Regions from separate parts of the Homo sapiens genome. Here regions 1, 3, 4, 5 and 6 are each linked to region 2. Evidence: promoter capture Hi-C in 16 types of primary human blood cells and fetal thymus (Javierre and others, 2016). All regions are on one chromosome and are shown on one strand. Each heading gives the region's core, a stretch centred on a gene start or on the middle of the fragment in contact. The rest is flanking DNA. Distances are from core to core; before and after follow the strand shown.

Evidence for each region. Contacts are between HindIII fragments. The CHiCAGO score rates a contact against its expected background, and 5 or more counts as called.
Region 1: a fragment that was not itself captured here is called in contact with the fragment with the promoter of SLC67A1 in region 2 in 2 of 17 cell types (M0 macrophages and monocytes); the score reaches 5.5 in M0 macrophages.
Region 3: a contact is called between a fragment that was not itself captured here and the fragment with the promoter of SLC67A1 in region 2, in 16 of 17 cell types (non-activated CD4 T cells, naive B cells, naive CD4 T cells and 13 more). The highest score is 10.0, in non-activated CD4 T cells.
Region 4: a fragment that was not itself captured here is called in contact with the fragment with the promoter of SLC67A1 in region 2 in 17 of 17 cell types (monocytes, M1 macrophages, activated CD4 T cells and 14 more); the score reaches 16.0 in monocytes.
Region 5: a contact is called between the fragment with the promoter of KCNQ1 here and the fragment with the promoter of SLC67A1 in region 2, in 15 of 17 cell types (M0 macrophages, activated CD4 T cells, erythroblasts and 12 more). The highest score is 15.8, in M0 macrophages.
Region 6: a contact is called between a fragment that was not itself captured here and the fragment with the promoter of SLC67A1 in region 2, in 1 of 17 cell types (naive CD4 T cells). The highest score is 5.1, in naive CD4 T cells.

What each region holds. Positions count from the first base shown.
Region 1 is chr11:2,479,151-2,482,319 of GRCh38, reverse strand. All of the region lies in intron 1 of KCNQ1 (potassium voltage-gated channel subfamily Q member 1), which reads right to left. Among named protein-coding and RNA genes, the nearest start is that of KCNQ1, 36 kb to the right of the region's middle. The HindIII fragment of the contact is 1,703 bases long and covers 731-2,433 here.
Region 2 is chr11:2,900,426-2,903,652 of GRCh38, reverse strand. SLC67A1 (solute carrier family 67 member 1) reads right to left here and starts at 1,375. Exons shown (of 11, transcript NM_002555.6): 1 at 1,289-1,375; 2 at 164-439. The coding sequence starts at 307. It overlaps SLC67A1-AS (SLC67A1 antisense RNA), which reads left to right and starts at 78. Exons shown (of 3, transcript NR_169305.1): 1 at 78-194; 2 at 944-1,069. RefSeq lists an enhancer at 1-188 and a silencer at 1,114-1,243. The HindIII fragment of the contact is 10,715 bases long and covers 1-3,227 here.
Region 3 is chr11:2,551,675-2,555,140 of GRCh38, reverse strand. All of the region lies in intron 2 of KCNQ1 (potassium voltage-gated channel subfamily Q member 1), which reads right to left. Among named protein-coding and RNA genes, the nearest start is that of KCNQ1, 110 kb to the right of the region's middle. The HindIII fragment of the contact is 3,473 bases long and covers 1-3,360 here.
Region 4 is chr11:2,517,703-2,521,205 of GRCh38, reverse strand. The region is part of intron 1 of KCNQ1 (potassium voltage-gated channel subfamily Q member 1); the gene reads right to left. Among named protein-coding and RNA genes, the nearest start is that of KCNQ1, 74 kb to the right of the region's middle. RefSeq lists enhancers at 494-993, 994-1,495. The HindIII fragment of the contact is 5,693 bases long and covers 1-3,503 here.
Region 5 is chr11:2,443,629-2,446,610 of GRCh38, reverse strand. It overlaps KCNQ1 (potassium voltage-gated channel subfamily Q member 1), which reads right to left and starts at 1,603. Exons shown (of 16, transcript NM_000218.3): 1 at 1,127-1,603. The coding sequence starts at 1,512. TRPM5 (transient receptor potential cation channel subfamily M member 5) reads left to right here and starts at 2,097. Exons shown (of 29, transcript NM_014555.4): 1 at 2,097-2,180. RefSeq lists silencers at 1,614-1,683, 1,694-1,803. The HindIII fragment of the contact is 13,739 bases long and covers 1-2,982 here.
Region 6 is chr11:2,498,187-2,501,214 of GRCh38, reverse strand. The region is part of intron 1 of KCNQ1 (potassium voltage-gated channel subfamily Q member 1); the gene reads right to left. Among named protein-coding and RNA genes, the nearest start is that of KCNQ1, 55 kb to the right of the region's middle. The HindIII fragment of the contact is 2,636 bases long and covers 39-2,674 here.

The DNA.
Region 1 (3,169 bases), core at 333-2,832, 420 kb after region 2:
ACATGTCTGCCATGTGTCAAAAGGTAAGAAGATACAAATGAGTTGTCTAGTACCCTCTCAATTTTACCAAGTATTTGCACAGACACACATAGGCAAGTATGCACACACACACATATACACACACACACACGCAGTGATAGGGGTTACCCTGCTCAGCACTTCCTGAGCTGGCAAGAAGCTAAGGGTGCTGGACAATGAGTTCATTCAATCCTCAAACCACCATACGAGGTGAGGGCTCCCATCGTTCCCGTTTCAGAGATGAAGAAACTGAGGCACAAATTCATAAAGCAAACAGCCGATGGCCGTGGTCCCCAACCTTTTTGGGACCAGTGACTGGTTTCATGGAAAACAGTTTTTCCACAGACCAGTGGTGTGGGTGGTTCTGGGATGATTCAAGCACATTACTTGCATTGGGCACTTTATTTCTACTATTATTACATTGTAATATAGAATTAAATAATTATACAACTCACCATAATGTAGAATCAGTGAGAGCCCTGAGCTTGTTTTCCTGCAACTAGACAGTCCCATCTGGGGGTGATGGGAGACAGTGACAGATCATCAGGCATTAGATTCTTATAAAGAGGAGGCAACCTAGATCCCTCACATGCATAGTTTGCAACAGGGTACACACCCCTGTGAGAATCTAATGCCGCCACTGATCTGATAGGAGGCAGAGCTCACGCGGTAATGCGAGTGATGGGGAGTGACTGTAAATACAGATGAAGCTTCACTTGCTCACCTGCCACTCACCTCCTGCTGTGCAGCCTGGTTCCTAACAGGCCATGGACTGGTAGTGCTTCATGGCCTGGGGGTTGGGGACGCCTGGCTGATGGCCACACAGCCTCGGGGAAGCAGCCTAGCTGTAGACGTGCAACTCACTCCTGACTGCACTGTGTGTGTACACGCCCTTAACACACACACAAAGACCAAGTAGAAACATGTGCATGCACGCGCGCACACACACACGCCGAGAAAAAGACTAGCAGGAAACTAAAAGCTGGCATCTCTGGCTTTTGGTACGATGAGTCATTTTACTTTTCTTCTTTAAAAATTTCTGCACGTTCTCTGATTAACATTTCTGAACTTTACAATCAGAAAAACTGATCTACTAAAAGCATTTTCTTATGTCTGGTGAGGAGTAACTGGAATTGTCATCTGCTTTGGATGAGAACTAGTGACATCACACATCGCATCAGTTCACTGCAGAAGAGACCACCACCCGTTCTCGTGGCTATGAGTGAAATCCAACATGATGTGGTAATTCTCTTCTAACTTTCGATTTATATGATTTCATTTCAAACTTATAGAGAAGTTGCAAGAATAGCAGAAGGAACTCCCAAACGTGCTCTGCTTAGACTTGCCTGCGGTTTCTACACTGCCCCCGTCCTGCTCCATCCTGTCCCTCTCCAGACTTCCCTCTTTTGGTTGAATCTTTCTGAGCCCTTGGAGACACCATGCCTGTTTTCTGCTAAACGCCTCCTCATGGATTTCTTAGGAATAAGGGTGTTCTCTTCTGTAACCATGTGGTACTGTTGTCAAAATCGGGAAACAACACTGACATGCACACTACAGGTCTCTATTGCACACTACAGTTCTCTACCTCACACTCTCACATCATCAGCTGCCCAGACACTGGCTATTGCAGCCATCTCTTCCCAGACAGGATTCAACTCTGATATGGTTTGGCTGTGTCCCCACCCAAATCTCATCTTGAACTGTAGCTCCCATAATTCCCATGTGTTGTGGGAGGGACCCAGTGGGAGATAATTGAACCATGGGGGCAGTTTCTCCCATATTGTTCTCGTGGTAGTGAATTAAGTCTCATGAGATCTGATGGTTTTATAAGGGGGAACCCCTTGCACTCTGTTTTCATTCTCTCTTTGCCAGCTGCCACGTAAGATGTGCCTTTGCTCTTTCTTCATCTTCCGCCATGATTGTGAGACCTCCCCAGCCATGTGGAACTGTGAGTCAATTAAACCTCTTCCCTTTATAAATTACCCAGTCTCAGGTATGTCTTTATCAGCAGCATGAAAATGGACTAATACAGTAAATTGGTACTGGGAGTGGGGTGCGGCTGTAAAGATACCCAAAAATGTGGAAGCAACTTTGGAACTGGGTAAGAGGCAGAGGTTGGACAGTTTGGAGGGCTCAGAAGATGACAAGAAAATGTGGGAGAGTCTGGAACTTCCTAGAAACTTGTTGAAGGGCTTGACCAAAATTCTGATAATGATATGGACAATGAAATCCAGGCTGAGGTGGTCTCAGATGGAGATGAGAAACTTTTTGGGAAGTGGATTAAAGATGACTCTTGCTATGTTTTAGCAAAGAGACTGGCAGTATTTTACCACTGCCCTAGAGATTTGTGGAACTTTGAACTTGAGGGAGATGATTTAGGGTATTTGGTGGAAGAAATTTCTAAGCTGCAAAGCTTTCAAGAGGTGACTTGGGTGTTGTTAAAAGCATTCAGTTTTGAAAGGGAAACAGAGATAAAAGTTCAGAAAATTTGCAGTCTGAAAATGTGATAGAAAATAAAAACCCATTTTCTGAGGAGAAAGTCAAGCAGCCTGCAGAAATTTGCATAAGTAACAAGAAGCCAAATGTTAATCACTAAGACAATGGGGAAAATGTCTCCAGGGCATGTCAGAGACCTTAGGAGCAGCCCCTCCCATCCCAGGCCCAGAGGCCTAGGAGGCAAAAATGGTTTCCTGGACTGGGCCCAGGGCCTCCATGCTGTGTGCAGCCTAGGGACTTGGTGCCCTGTGTCCCAGCCGCTCTAGCCATAGCTAAAAGGTGTCAAGGTACAGCTTGGGCTGTGGCTTCAGAGGGTGCAAGCCCCAACTCTTGGTAGCTTCCATGTGGTGTTGAGCCTGTGGGTGCACAGAAGTCAAGAATTGAGGTATGGAAAGCTCTGCCTAGATTTCAGAGATGTATGGAAATGCCTGGATGTCCAGGCAGAAGTTTGCTGCAGGGGTGGGGTCCTCATGGAGAACCTCTGCTAGGGCAGTGAGGAAGGGAAAAGTGGGGTTGGAGCCCCCATGCAAAGTCCCCACTGGGGCACTGCCTAGTGGAGCTGTGAGAAGAGGGCCACTGTCCTCCAGATCCCAGAATGATAGATCCATCAACAGCTTGCACCATGTGCCTGGAAAAGCTGCAGACACTCAATGCC
Region 2 (3,227 bases), core at 126-2,625:
GTCCTTAACTTACTCAGCTTAAGCGTGGCATGAGTCCCAACTGGGAGGGGCCCTGGCAGCATGAAACCCCCACCCCCACTCTCTGCGACGGCCCAGATGGAGGGCAGGAGGAACAGCGGTTCAGCCCTGGCTGGGGCTGCAGGGGCTGGGGTGTGTTACTCACTGGCACGATGGAGAACTGCATGAAGAGGCAGGTAAGTTCTGTGGCGGCCAGCACGTAGGTAAGCAAGATGACCGAGGACCGGCCTAGAGCGCTCATCCTGCCGGGGGACCGGCCCTGGTCCCTGGGAGCCCGAGCTCCCTGCATCCTGGACAGGCGCAGCAGGGAGACCCAGGAGAGATCCAAGCAGGAGGCTGGCGGAGCAGGGGGCAAAAGTCCAGTTGATCCGGGCAGGGGTGCTGAGTCACTGGGTCCCAGGCAGCACCCGCCTGGCCTTGCCTGCAAGAGAGGACAGCACTGCAGGACCCCCTCCCCAGTGGAGCTCTCCTGCTACCTGGACCTTAGAGGACACATCAGGGGGTCCCCCTCCTCCACTTTTGACAGCTCTGGTCTCCAGGCACACAGCCTCCCGGGGAGGGGAGACAGGGACAAGCTGCTCCCCCCGACCCCTGCAGGTGGGCCAGGCTCAGTGCCTGGTTGCCTGACACAGGAATGTGCCATGCCCCACTTTTAGAGGGAGGCAGAGGCTCGGAGTGGTGGCTGAGTCCACCTCAAATCATCAGCGCCTTCTGTGGCCAGAGGGCTGATGTGGGTCCCTGTGCCTGGAGGCCCTCCGTAGGCCCACAGTGGCCCTGTCCCCAACACAGTGCAGCTCTCAGGGAAGGTCTACCTTCCCCTGTGGCCAGCAGCCAGAGCTCCAAGGGGCTTCTGGAATGGTCTTGCGTAGGGGAGACATAGCTCAGCCTTCCAGGCTCCCCAGTAGCTCTGCCTTACCTCCCACAGCGGAGTGCTGTCTGTCCCCACCCTTCCCCGCCCGGCCTCCAACTGGTGGGAACTGGATTTTGCGGCTGCAGAGGACTTCCCCAAATTTTGCCACATTAACAGCTGACTGCACATCTGAGCCCCGAGGTACCGAACCCAGGCTGGTGGGGTAGGGCGGGGAGACCCCTGAGGGTCCGGGAGCTGCGCCTGGCGCCCTCCCCCATCCCGGGATGCAGGGAGGCTGGGGGGAGCAGGGCAGCCGCAGCAGGCACGTCAGGGGCACCTCATTGGGCAGAGGTGCGACGCTGCGCCGGAGTTCGGGGTTCGGGGCTCAGAGGCCGCCCTCTCCGGAGTGTGCTCGAGTACCTGCCTTTGCAGGGGCGGGCTTGGGCACGGGTGCCGGTGGGGTGAGCGCTCCAGGGTGACCTAGACACCGGTCCTTCCGGGATGAGCCCCGGCCCCGCCCTTTCGGGAGATGACTTGCAACAGGGACCGCCCCTCTGGGTCTGAGTTCCAGCCCTCGCGCTTTGCAATCGCCAGTTCCGGGAGCGCCCGTGCCACGGTTTCTGCGCTCTCACTGGCCGAGCCCGCCCCTCCCCTCGAAGGACCCGCCCCTGCCCCGCCCACCAGCGGGCTCGCCCCGTGCCCGGCTTCGCCCGCCCCAGCCCCCTCCAGCTTGAATCCTGCCCGGTGCCCGGGCTGCTGGAGGTGGACACTCTGACCCTCAGGCAGCACCGGTGTCCACTTTGGGCCTGAGGAGGGGCAGTGTGGGCAGGGGATGGGACCGGGAGGTGGAGGGAAGGAGAGAATGGAGGGGAGGCAGGGGCGGGGAGAGAAAAGCGGAGGAATGGTGGTGAGGGGTTAGGGGAAGAAGTCAGGGGAGGTTGTAGAGGGTGTGGTGTAGCCTGGCCCTGCCAAAGGTCTGCACAGAGCCCCAGAAGAGTGACCAGGAGACAGCTCTGGGCCCCTCCTCACTTCCCTCCCCAGACCCGGAGGCTGCTAGGAGCAGTTGAGAGCCCACTTTTCCCCATTTCACCCTGCCTGCCACTTCCCCACCCTTGCAGGGGCCACCAGAGATGCCAGCACACAGGTAAACAAGCCTCATGCCGCCCTCCGCAGCAGGAGCCGCTGGAGCACACACACCCCACGCTGCGCACACTTGGCCCAAGCCCTGCCCTTGGCCTGGGCACCATTCTCCGTGCCCCTGACTGTCACTAAGTAGGGAGATGCTCATTCAGGACTCCTGCCCCACCTCCTCCCCAGGCAAGGGCTGGGCACAGGCTCAAATGTCAAAACCAGTGTCCCCCTGCCATGTGTCAATCATCGCTCCACAGAGCAGAAAACTGCAGGGGTGAGACAGGGTGGGACGGACATCGCAGAGGCGAGCGAGAGCCGGCCAAAGTCCTGGTGGGCAGGGGGGCCAGAGCCAGGTGGCCCAAGGCCGGCTGGCTAAGCCATTCCAAGTCACCGTGGGAGTGGTTCAGCAGCTACCCTTCGTTCAGCAGCTCAGATATGTTGGGCATCAGAAAACAATACCCCAAAATGAAGGCCTCAGAAGCAGCTTCGGAAGAAAAAGTGTTTCTCTGACCTTCTCTTGCTCTCCTGTCTCTCAGTGCCATTTTCCCCGAAGCTGGCCTTAGAAACTGGAATCCATTTTCCCCAGGGCAGGTCATAGAAATCAGAACCCCGCCTTTCCACACAGCCAGACATCAAACCTAAAAATATTGCTCTAACTTTCCCTCCACCTTTGTGTTTAGAAGCTGGCCATAAATTATCTGACCTCTCTTGTTTGACTGTAGGGCATAAGACCCCATTCCAGGAGGGTCCTGCTCCATGCCCAGAAGGAAGGAATGCTGCTCAGAAAGTTCAAGAAATCTAGACCAACAGCCCTCGCTGCGCTTCCCCTTGCGGTCCAGGAGCATTAGTGCAGGTCCCTTGGTTCATCTGTGTTCCCGCATGGATGTCCATACTTTGTTGAGCCTAAGCATCAGAAATGGCAATTTCCCCCATATCTTTTTTTTTTTTTTTTTTTTTTTTTGAGACGGAGTCTTGCTCTGTCACCCAGGCTGAAGTGCAGTGGCGCGATCTCGGCTCGCTGCAAGCTCCGCCTCCCGGGTTCACGCCATTCTCCTGCCTCAGCCTCCCGAGTAGCTGGGACTACAGGCGCCCGCCACAGCCCCCGCTAATTTTTTTGTATTTTTAGTAGAGACGGAGTTTCACCGTGTTAGCCAGGATGGTCTCGATCTCCTGACCTCGTGATCCGCCCCCCCTCGGCCTCCCAAAGTGCTGGGATTACAGGCGTGAG
Region 3 (3,466 bases), core at 375-2,874, 350 kb after region 2:
GGTTGAACCCTGTTTACTTTAGCAGAGATTGAGGAGCTGCAACCCACACCGGCCCTTCAGGGGCCCGCGCAGTGTTGGGACAGGAAGGCCTGCGGTTATTAAAGGCTGCCCTGTGGACGTGTGTGTGTGCACGTGTGTCAGCGCGTGTGTGCACACGGGCCTGTCTAGTCTGTTTTCTGACTGCTGAGTACCTCACTCTGATTCTGCAAATCTAGAGATTTTAATAACAGGCGGTGAATTTAAACAGTTGTTTTCCCCCCCTTTCAGGAATGTTTTAAGGGATTGAGAGGAAATTGTGCACGGATTTTGCTGTTTTAAGAGCTAATATGTGAACAACTTCAGAAGGATGTATGTTGTTTTAGGGCTGAAGTTTACACAGTAAACGGGAGAGTCAAAAGCAGACTTGTCGTGAAATTGTAGGGCCTGTCTTCTTAAATTTCATTCCTCTGAGAAGGGACTGCCTCCCTGGGGAGCAAAGCTGGAAGGAAACAGAGAAAGTCTGATCTTTGTCCCCCGTGCCCCTTACGGTGTCCTGTTGCAGAATCCCTGGGGAGGCAGTGCCCAGTGGGATGGCCAGCAGCAGAGACCACCCAGCCCAGGCCCCCTCTCAGGGCACTGAGGAGGGTCCCCCTGCAGATGGCTGCATTCAGAGGTCTGCAAACCCCACAGCCCCTAAGCTGCTCAGGAATGACATGTCAGCACAACATGGTCTTGTTTCCAAATTTGGGCTGGGGCTTCTGCTCCTTGGGGACAAATACTTTCAAAGACATGAACAATCAAAACCTCATCAAGAAGAAATAGACAACCTGCATAGCCCTGTATCTGCTGACTTTCCAATGGCAAACTTCTCCACAAAGAAAACTCCAGGCCCAGATACCTCCACATGTTCTAGCTATCAAATGTTTAAGGGAGAAATAATTGCAATTCTACACAAACTCTTCCTAAAAATTGAAGAGCAGGAAATATTTCCCAACTCATTCTCTGATGCCAGCGGCATCTGATGCCAAAACCAGACACAACAGCCAACACATGGCAGGTGACGCCCTCGTGAGCGTGGGCGTGGAAGTTCTACACACAACCGAAGTCAGTCACATCCAAAAAGGTGTTTTAAAACGCATCATGACAGCTGGGCATGGTGGCTCACGCTTGTAATCCCAGCACTTTGGAAGGTCAAGGCGGGCAGATCACCTGAGGTCAGGAGTTCAAGACCACCCTGGCCAACATGGTGAAACCCTATCTCTACCTAAAAATACAAAAATTAGCTGGGTGTGGTGGCGGGCGCCTGTAATCCCAGCTACTCGGGAGGCTGAGGCAGGAGAATCACTTGAGCCTGGGAGGCAGAGGCTGCAGTGAGCCGAGATCACGCCATTGCGCTCCAGCTTGGGCAAAAAGACCAAGACTCCATCTCAAAAAAATAAAAAATTTAAAAAAGTACAAATACATATAAAATAAATAAATAAATAAATAAAATAAAATAAAATAAAAATTCATCATGACCAAGTGGGCTTTGTGTAAGGGAAGCAAGTTTGCTTTGCTATTTGAAAGTCAATCAGTGCGATTCCCCACACTAGCAAATTAAGAAAGAATTTGATTGAGATTGTTGCAAATGATATGATTATCTCAATAGAGGCAGAAGGAGCACTTGTCAAAAAATCCAACAGCCATTCTTGACGCACTCTCTATTCCCAGCAAACCAGGAAGAGGAGGAACTTCTTGGCCTGATAAGTGGCTTCTACTAAAACCCTACAGCTCCCACCACACCTAATGGTGAAAGATTACCTCACTTCACCTTAGGAGTAAGATAAGGATAGCAGCCCTCTCCCCACTGGCAGACACTGTCAGGTGCATTCAAGTAAAAACAAGAAATAAATAGTATATGGACTGAAAAGGCAAAAATAAGACTGACTTAATTGTGGACAACACAATCATCTCCATAGAAAATCCTAAAGAATCTACAAAAAAACAAAAAAAAAAAAAACAAAAAAAACCCCAAAAACAGATGAACAAGAAACCTTCTCAAACTAATAAGTAACATGAGCAAAGTCACAGGACGCAAGGTTAATATACGAACAAATCAATTGTATTTCTATATCCTAGCAACAAATAATCCAAAAGTGAAACTGAGAAAACAATATCATTTCAGTAGCTTCAAAAACATAAAATACTTAGGAACAAATCTAGCAAGTTTCACACCACTAAAAATTACACAATCCTGATGAGTGGTGTTGAAAAATATCTAAGACACCGGGGAGCAAGACCGTGTTCGTGGATCAGAAAACTCGGTATTACTAAGACGTGCATGAGGCACTGGGGAGCGAGACAGTGTTCGTGGATCGGAAAACTCGGTATTACTAAGACGTGCATGAGGCACTGGGGAGCGAGACCGTGTTCGTGGATCGGAAAACTCGGTATTACTAAGACGTGCATGAGGCACTGGGGAGAGAGACCGTGTTCGTGGATCAGAAAACTCGGTATTACTAAGACGTGTATGAGATCCAAATTTATCTACATATCCAATGCAATGCCAATCAAAATTCTAGCCAATTTTTTTTTTGGTAGAATTGACGAGCTGATTCTAAGATATTCATGAGAATGTGAAGGAGCTGGCAGAACAGCTCACTCTTGAAAATGAACAAAATTGGAGGATTAACAGGACCTGATTTCAAGGCTTAGCGTAAAAGTCACAGTAATCAAGACAGTGCTTTCCTGGCAGAACAGATGACAAAGTCCAGAAATCGAACCCACACACACGGCCAACTGATTTTCATCAAAGGTGCCAAAGTAATTCAATGGGAAAAAAGTCTCTGGGACAACTGGATAACCACATGCAGAAAGATTTAACCTCCATCCATACCTGTCACCATATATAAAATTAAACTCGAAATGAATCACAGATCTAAACAAGAAATGTGAAACTATAAAATTTCTACAGAAAACAGGAGAAAAAACTTTGTAATCTTGGATTAGGCGAATATTTCTTAGACAGAACACAAAGAACATGAACCCTAAAGAAAAAAAAAAAGAAGAACCCTGATGAATTGAACTTCATCAAAATTAAAAACTGCTGCTCTTTTGAAAGATCCTGTTAAGAAAATGCAAAGACAAAGCCATGACTGGGAGAAAATATTTGTAAAACAGATCTGGTGAAGGACTCATATCCAGAACATAGACACAACTCTTACAACTCACATGATTATTCTAAGAAGACAACCTAATTGTTAAAACCAGCAACAAACTGGACAGATCCTCCATCAAAGGAGATATATGAATGGCAAATATGCCCAACACCATTCGTCACTAGGGAAATGCAAATGAAGACCATGACGGAATATGGCTCCAGCCTTTAGGATGGGCAAAGCTTAAAAAGCAGACAATACTAAGTGCTGGTGAGAATCCATAGGAGCCAGAATGCTCGTACATTGATGGTAAGAGTGGAAAACGGGCCTACCATTTTGCAAAATGCTTT
Region 4 (3,503 bases), core at 195-2,694, 380 kb after region 2:
GGGTGCAGAATTTCAGTTTGGGAGAGAAGTTTTGGGGTGGATGGTGGTGACGGTTGCACAACCATGTAAATGTACCTATTGCCACTGGGCCGTGACCTGACACAGAGTTAAGACGGTAAATTGTGTGTTATGTGTATTTTATCACAATAAAAAAAAAACTTTTTTTAAAGCAAACAACATTCATAGAGCAAGCATCAGAGGGTTCAAAATGTTCCCCGTGGCTGGTGAATGAGATCGAGCAATGTTCAAAGACCCCTACTGGGGACGGGACCTCGCCAGGCTGATAAGCAGACAATGGGTTTGTGAAGCGAACCTAAAGCCGAAGGCAGGATAGGGCCTTGAATGTGTAACTTCAAGAGATTAAATATTGACGCTTAAACCCCAAACCACTTCTAGGGGCTTAAAAAAAAAAGTCATCCTGGGAGACTCCAAATGCCTCCAAATCCCATGTGCCCCAGGAAGGAAACACTGGGCGCTGGAGAGGACAGGCTTCCCCTGCTCACTCACTGGTCACCAGCAGGTCTCCCTCCATCCCTGATGTGGCTGCCGGCTCCAGGGCTGCTGAGCTCAGAGCCCTGGGATGTGGACGCCCAGGGGCAGAGGTCTCACAGCCTGCCAGGGCTGTTCCCCAGGGCTGAATCTGCACCTCAGAAAAAGCTACCAGCTGGTCACCCCCCTCACCAGTGGCTGTCACCCCCCTCACCAGTGGCTGTCAGCAGGCAGCCTCAGCAGGGTTTGGAGGTCGCCAAGGTCCCCACAGGTTCACCTGCTTCCTGGCTCTGCATGGATGGAGCCTGGGCCAGGCATCTCCCGACCCCTCCCAAAGGGGTGAGCCCTGGCCCACACCGAGGGCCCCACGCTGGGCTGGACACTAGGCACAGGTTCCCCGCTCTGAACCCCATGTGGAAGGTGTCACATCATGGAAGTCCTGGTGAGGAGACAGAAGCCCTGGTGAGGCACGTCTGGTCCCAGGCTGCCCCCCAGAAGCCCCCTGGATTGGGGTTCAGGAGGCACTACCAATCGATGGGGACACTGAGGCTCAGACACAGCATGGGACGTGCCCAGACTGGCCGACTCCAGGGGCCCCAGCGCCACCACTTGGTGCCATGGTCCTGAGGCAGGAATGCCACATCAGGCCATACGTCATCCTGGGGGGTGGGGGCGACAGGGCCCTTTTCAGCCTTCCAGCCTCTGCGGGCTCCCGCGTCCTGGGTGGGTGGCGGCATCACTCCCGTGCTGTGCAGCATGTGGCCGGATCCTCCTTTGTTGAATCTGTCCTGTCTTTTAGGAGGACACGTGTCACTGGACTTGGGCCCCCTGGATAATGCAATCACGCCTCTCGGGACCCTCAGCCTCAGCTGCAAAGGGGTGTTTTCTATGTCAGGTCACATTTGCAGCTTCCAGGGATGGAAACCAATGTTGTGGGGGGGGGCCAACACCTGCTGTACTATGTAAGTATTTAATACATTACTTATGATCACTATTGGTAGATTTTGAATTCTTAAACAACAGAATTAGGTATTGGTCAAAAACATATATTAGTTGTTGTTGTTTTTTGGTTTTTTGTTTTGTTTTGTTTTGTTTTTGAGACAGAGTCTTGTTCTGTCACCCAGGCTGGAGGACAGTGGTATGATCCTGGCTCACTGCAGCCTCGATTTCCTGGGCTCAAGCGATCCTCCCAACTCAGTCTCCCAAAGTGCTGGGATTACAGGCGTAAGCCACCATGCCCGGCCTCATGTCTTAATTTTTAAAACATAATTAAAAATGTACTCAAAGCTCAGAGTTTCCTTTTCATCCTCTCACCTCCAGATCCTTAATGGAATTGCATCTGAAAAAATTCTTTTAAAAAGAGGGTCACGTCCACGCCCACTGGTGTCAGCACAGGGACGCCTCTCTCACCATTCAGCCCACAGGGCATCACCCGAACCCTGTCATGTTGGAGAGAAGGGAGCTGGGGGTGGTGATTCCCGGCACAGGCGGGACATGGCTGGCCCATCTGCAGCAGGCAGCTGCCACGTCGGGAGTAGGTCCATGAGGCTCCCTAGCACCCCAGCCCTTCAGGGACCGCCACTTCTCACCAGAACGGCAACAGCTGCCCCCCAACCATTGCCCCTCAGGCCCCCACACAGCACCCTGTCTGCCATTGTCCACACTGCCCAGCTGGTTGGCAGGGCCTTGGAAGCCCCTCCCCTGGCAGCCACAACAGGGCACAAACCACAGAAGGAGCGTGGATGTGATCCCACACCCGCTTCACAGACCCACAGCCTGGTCCTCCCCGTCCAGCTCCGGGTGAATGGACGCCTCCCCACCAGACTGGGCCTCCTTGGCCCAGGGCTCCCGTGGCCACCCCATGCCTCACGCTGTCTTATACTCTTTACCTGTGGCTTGTTCCGCGGCAGCTGAGTCTCATTTCTTTAAAAAGTTCTTGAAAGCCATGGGATCCCAGCCCAAGGGACACAACAATGGGTGACTTGGTGTGGCCGGTGGGTAAGATTTCTGCCCTCATTGTCTCCCGAAGCCCCAAGTGTGCTGTCCCCGTTAGACAGAGCCGCCAGCCCGCCTATCCAGGAGCCATCTGGAGATTAAACCTGTGTCCCACAGCAGGACCAAGGCTGTCCCCAGCCTCTTGGGGTTTCAGCTGACACTTTTTCCAACACAGATCTGGACTGGGAACCCCAAGAAACAGGTCCCTTCCTGCCAGCTTTCGGCTGGGTCCACACAGAACTCCTGTGCCTGCAGCACCTCCCCAGAGGCTGGTCCCCCTGCCGGGGCCACCAGGCCTGCACCCCAACTGCAGCCCACTCCCCTGGTCCCCCCGCCTCTGTCTCTCCTGTCCCAAGGCAGCGTCTACCCTCCCATGTTACAAGACCCCCCACATGAAGCCTGGACCCCAAACCCTCCTTCTGCGGAGGCCCTGGCCTGGGCTTCCCTGCCAGGCTCTCAGGAGGCCTCCGGCTCTGGCTTGCACCAGTTCATGGACCGCCAGGCAGCCACTGCCACCACTGCCTCCCCGACCAGAGCAGGGGCTCCCCAGGCAGGGGCCCACCAGCTGCATTCCCTCCCTCCGAAGGCCCAGTGCCAGGCGTGGGATGCACGTTTGTGAAGTGTTTGCTGAATGACTGATGGTGTGAATGAATGTTAGGGTAAACCCTCAAGCTCGGTGAATGAAGTCTCAGTGCCGCCTCCTCCATGCAGGCCTCCGGGTGAATCTGGAAGTGAGTTAGGCTCCTTAGACTCTGTTCTTTTCCTTCCTATCCCACCGCACACCACAGGCTCAGCCTAGCTCGCAAGTGGCCTTTGAGCAGGACGTGGTACTGAGGCAGCGTTCCGCCACCCCTCACCCCCAGGCTGCATGCCAACAGCACAGGTTGACAGATCGCTGGGAGCCTCCTGGGGTGGGCTCTGACGTGAGCTGCGGGCGCAGGCATGGCCCCCCCAGCAGGCAGGTGTGAGCGGGCAGGACGTGCAGGCATATGCTCCCAGGGCCATGGTCCCACTGGCCA
Region 5 (2,982 bases), core at 354-2,853, 460 kb after region 2:
CCTGAGACGATGCTTGAAGCCATTTGGGGCCTGGCTCCTGCTGTCACCCGCCCTGAGGCCCTGGTGGCAGCTGCCAGCAGGCATGGACAGGCCTCTGGATGCCCTCCAGCCAGTTCTCTACTGAGCCTGCCCGAGGCAGAGGAGATGCTTCCACCTGAGGACGCTCAGGGAGACCACCCTTCAGCCCTCAGGTGAGCCCCACAGCCATCAGCCATGGGATGTCTGGGTAGAGGCTCCCAGGCCAGAGGCTGGCACCACACCAAAAGGCCGCTGGCTGGGCAGCCAGGAAGTAGGGCCACTGGGGCAGCGGGGGAAGGCCCCAGGCAGGCATGGAGGAGAGCAGCCTGGACCTTCCCGGAGGTGACTTCCCAGGCCTGTCCCTGAGAAATCCAGTGCCCAGCCCTGCTCAGGCACGCTGTACCGGGAATTGGAACCACCTGGTAACAGGGGGGCCAGGTGCCTCTGCTACCAGCGCTGCTTTCTCCGGGAGCACAGCTGCCTCTTAGTGAGAGCTGCAAACGTGCCTCTCCGCTCTCTGCATCAAGCCAGGTTTTCATGAGCTTGGTTCAATTAGTTAATGTGGGGCCCGTGGGGACGGCCCGTGGCATGCTGAGCCCTCAGGGAGCACCGCCACCGTCACCTTCCTATCCTGGACAGCCCCCTGCCCCAGAGTCCACCTGGGCCTCAGGGGGTCTGAGATGCGGCACCGGACATCAGGGGCCTTCTCTCTTGGGGGCTCCTGAGCCTCGAGTCTCAGCCGACCTTGAGGAGTTATCTTACTGCACCCAAGGGTGCGCTCCCCAGCACGCTTCTCTTCCCAGAAGGATTCACACCTGGACTACCCTCCCGGAGGTGTGGAGCCAAATTCTGGGCTCCAGGTGGTCCCCTCCCCAGCCGGCTCCCTCCCCACGCCGGGCCTGCGAGAAGATGCGCACCCCCAGACACAGCAGCGCCTCTGAACTTCAAGGGAGAGTGCAGAGTTTGTGTTTCTGCGTTTCCCCACTTCCTTCCCTCCTCTGCTCCGGGGTCGCAGCTCCGACGGGGCAGGTGGCGCTGGGACAGAGCTCCCCCACACCAGCTCTCAGGAAGCACCTTCGTGCCGGCCGTCGCCGGTGGCGATACTCACACGGCGAAGTGGTAAACGAAGCATTTCCAGCCGGTGGGACGCTCGAGGAAGTTGTAGACGCGGCCCTGGACGTGGGTGCGCGCCAACACCGGGCGGCGCGTGCTGTAGATGGAGACGCGCGGGTCTAGGCTCACCGGCGGCCGCGGGCCAAGGTCGGAGGCAACTGGGGGCGCGGCGGGCGCGGCCGGGGACGCAGGGGGCGCGGGACCTGGGGCGCCGGGCGCGATGGGCGCGTAGAGCGCGCCGCCCGCCGGGCCGCCCTCCGCCAGCTCCAGCGAGAAGGGGCACTTCTTGGCCAGGCCCGCGCTGCCCCGCCGGGCGCCTGGCAGGCGGCCCCAACCCCAGCGCTTCCTCTCGGCCCTGGGCGGGGAGGAGGCCGCGGCCATAACGAGGAGGGCCTGCCGGGGGGCCGGCCCGAGCGGCGGCACCGGGAGCTGCAGCGAAGGCGAGCGCCCGGGCGCAGTGCGGGCAGCCACTGCTGCCAGCCCCGCCGCGGGGGGCCGCTGCCGGCCCAGCCCGGGCGCTCGGGGCGGGGCCGGAGGGGGCAGTGGCCGAGGGCCGGTCCCATGGGACGGCGTGCCCCGCCCCCGCCTGCACGCCCCGCCCCCGCCGGTCCGGCGCGCACAGGGCGTCCCTGCCCGCGCCCACCGGCTTGGCCCGCCCTCTCCCCACGGACCGGCCTGGCCCTGCCTCCGCCTCACCCCCTGGCTTGGCCTGTCCGCGCCCCCGCCCCCGCCTGCGCCCCCGCCCCCACCCCCACCCCCGCCCGAGCCCACCTGCTTAGCCCCGCTCGTGTCATCTATCCCGCTTGGCCCCGCCCCCTCCTCGCCCACCTGTTTGGCCCCGTTCCAGTGTGCATTTACCCCGCCTGGCCCCGCCCCCTCCCCGCCCACCTGCTTGGCCCCGCCCTCACCCACCTGCTTGGCCCCGCCCCGTCTGCATCTCCCCTGCTTGCTCCTGCCCTGCCCTCACCCACCTGCTTGGCCCCCACTTCTGATGCCCGCCTGCTCTGCCTGGCCCGGAGGAGGACCCCAGCTGCGCCAGGGAGGAAGGGGTAAGGCCTGGCCGATACCACGACCGAGAACGGCACAGCGGGGGCAGGAGGGGCGGGGTAGGGTGCCGGCATCTACTTTCCCTCCCTCTGAGCCACTCCGGAGTTGGGGTTGGGGGGAGGAAAGGGATGTCCTGGGTGAGGGTGTGCTGGCCCCGCGATCACTGTGAGCGCCCCCGGGTGCCCAGGCGCGCGAGCTGCGGGCGGCGAATACGCTCGGGTCGCTTCCCACCAGGGCCCTTGGACCGGGAGGGTGAGATGGGACCACCACTGTCAGGTACCTCCCAGTGGGAGCTGTGTGGGTGGGGAGCCGGCAGGGCTGCTGGGGGGTGGGGGCGGCACAGCCGGGGTCTGGACCTGGTTTGACTGCCGGGCATAGCAGGCGGGGCTGCCTGGGCAGTTAAAGGGAGAGGCGCTTGCGCCACCCTAGTAACTTGGAGAATGGGCGCCTTGTCCTCCCCACCGTCGAGACCGCGCTGCCGCTGCGCCCCGTGGATTCCCCTGGGTGGGGGTGGGTTGGTCACATCGGAAGATTTTCACAGGTCTCTGCACTGCCTCCCGCCCGCTACTGGCATTTGGGTCTCAGCACGTCTCAGGCTTGGGGGGGGGGTGGGGGGCAGCCAACAGAAGAGACCGGCTTTTTTCAGGATACTGCACACAGCCCTGAGGCAGGGACTAAAGGTGGAGCTCAGCGGTGACTCTCCGCCCCGCCAGGAGACCCATAACTCATGTGACACTTCCAGGTCGTCCCTGAGCACCCTGGGTCAATTTGATGTATCTACCACCCCCTGCCAAAAGTCTGCTC
Region 6 (3,028 bases), core at 107-2,606, 400 kb after region 2:
TTTCTTCACTTCAATTTCATGTATTTCTGCTCTAAGCTTTATTATTTCTTCTACTAATTTTAGGTTGACTTACTCTTGCTTTTCTTGTTCTTTAAGATCATTAGGTTGTTTACTTGAAGTTTTTCTCTTTATTGATGCAGGTGCTTTTAACTAGAAACTTCCCTCTTAATACTGCTTTTGCTGTATCCCACAGGATTTTTATAAGTTCTGGGGTACATGTGCAGAACATGCAGTTTTGTTACATAGGCATACACGTGCCATGGTGGTTTGCTGCACCCATCAACCCGTCATCTACATTAGGTATTTCTCCTAATTCCCTCCCTCCCCTTGCCCCCACCCCCCAACAGACCCCGGTGTGTGATGTTCCCCTCCCTGTGTCCATGTGTTCTCCTTGTTCAACTCCCGCTTATGAGTGAGAACATGTGGTGTTTGGTTTTCTGTTCTTGTGTTAGTTTGCTGAGAATGATGGTTTCCAGCTTCATCCGTGTCCCTGAAAAGAACATAAACTCATCTTTTTTTATGGCTGCATAGTACTTCACAGTGTATATGTGCCACATTTTCTTTATCCAGCCTATCATTGATGGGCATTTGGGTTGGTTCCAAGTCTTTGCTATTGTGAATAGTGGTGCAATAAACATATGTGTGCATGTGTCTTTATAATACAATGATTTATAATCCTTTGGGTATATACCCAGTAATGGGATCACTGGGTCAAATGGTATTTGGGTTCTAGATCCTTGAGGAATTGCCACACTGTCTTCCACAATGGTTGAACTAATTTACACTCCCACCAACAGTGTAAAAGCGTTCCTATTTCTCCACATCCTCTCCAGCATCTGTTGTTTCCTGATTTTTTAATGATCGCCATTCTAACTGGTGTGAGATGGTATCTCATTGTGGTTTTGATTTGCATTTCTCTAATGACCAGTGATGATGAGCACATTTTCATATGTTTTTTGGCTGCATAAATGTCTTTTTTTTGAGAAGTGTCTGTTCATATCTTCAAGGAGAACTACAAACCACTGCTCAAGGAAGTAAAAAAGACACAAACAAATCCCACAGGTTTTGGTAAGTTGTGTTTCCATTGTAATTTATTTCAATAAAATTTTCAATTTCCTTCTTAATTTCTTCCTTGACCCTCTGGTCATTCAGGAGCATATTGTTTAATTACTATGTGTATGTCTGTATAGTTTCCAAAATGTCTCATTATTAACTTCTAGTTTTATTCTGTACTGGTCAGAGAAGATGCTTGATAGTATTTCAATTTTTTAGAATGTTTCAAGACTTGTTTTGTGATCTAACATATGGTCTATCCTTGAGAATGAGCTATGTGCTGAGGAGAATGTGTATTCTTCTCTTGGAATTGCTGGATGAAATGTCCTGTAAATATCTATTAGGTATATTTGGTCTACAGTGCAGATTAAGTTAGATGTTTCTTTGAAATTGTTATATCGTCTTGCTGAATTGATCCCTTTATCATGATGTAATGACCTTCTTTGTCTCTTCTTATAGTTATTATCTTGAACTCTACTTTGCCTAATACAAGTATAGCTACTCCTGATCTTTTCTGGTTTCTATTGGCACGGAATATCTTTTTTCAAGCCCTTAATTTTCAGTCTATGTGTATTTTTATAGGTTGAAATGTGTTTCTTGTAAGCAACAGATAATTGGGTCTTTTTTTGTGGGGGCAGGGGTCCATTCAACCACTCTGTCTTTTGATTGGCAAGGTTAGCCCATTTACATTTAATATTATTATTGATACGTAAGGACTCACTCTTGCCATTTTATTATTTGTTTTCTGGTGAAGATATTCTCTTCCTTTGTTACTTCCCTTCTGTCTTCCTTTTAGTGAAGGTGATTTTCTCTAGTGGCATGCTTTAATTTCTTGCTTTTTATTTGTGTGTCTGCCATATGTTTTAGATCTGAGGTTACCATGAGGCTTGAAAATATCTTACAACTCATTATTTTAAACTGATGATGACTTAACACTAATTGCATAAACAAGCAAAAAAACAAAATCAAAAATTCTACACTTTACATCTGGCAAGATGGCAGAATAGGAAGAGCTCCAGTCTGTAGCTGTCAGTGAGATCAACACTGGGTGATTTCTGCATTTCTGACTGAGGTACCAAGTTCATCTCATTGGGACTGATTAGGCAGTGGGTGCAGCCCACGGAGGGCACACAGAAGCAGGTGGGGCATCGCCTCACCTGGGAAGTGCAAGGAGCCGGGAGACCTCCCTCCCCCAGCCGAGGGAACTGCAAACATGCAGTTTGCATGCAGTTGCTGCACCCATCAACCCGTCATCTGTGATACCCGGGACTGTGATACCCGGCCTGGATACTATGCTTTTCCCATGGGTTTTGCAATCTGCAGATCAGGAGACTCCTTCATGTGCCTATACCACCAGGGCCCTGGGTTTCAAGCACAAAACTGAGTTGCTGTTTGGACAGACATTGAACTAGCTGCAGGAGTTTTTTCTGTACCCCAGTGGTGCCTGGAACCCCAGCAAGACAGAATCATTTACTCCCCTGGAAAGGGGGCTGAGGCCAGGAAGCCAAGTGGTCTCACTCAGTGGGTCCCACTCCCATGGAGCCCAGCAAGCTAAGAACCACTGGCTTCAAATTCTCACTGCCAGCACAGCAGTCTGAAGTTGACCTGGGATGCTCAAGCTTGGTGGCGGGAGGGGCATTTGGTATTACTGAGGCTTTAGTAGGCGGTTTTCCCCTGATAGTGCTAAGGAGGCTGGGAGGCTTGGACTGGGCAGAATTCACCAAAGCACAGCAAAGCAGCTGAGGCCAGACTGCTTCTCTAGATTCCTCCTCACTGGGCAGGGCATCTCTGAAAGAAAGGCAGCAGCCCCAGTCAGGGGATTATAGATAAAACTCCCATTTCCCTGGGACAGAGCACCTGGAGAAGGGGTGGCTGTGGGCACAGCTTCAGCAGACTTGAACTCTCCTGCCTGCTGGCTCTGAAGAGAGCAGCTGATCCTGACAAGGGGGATTCTCGCAGCACAGTGCATGAGCTC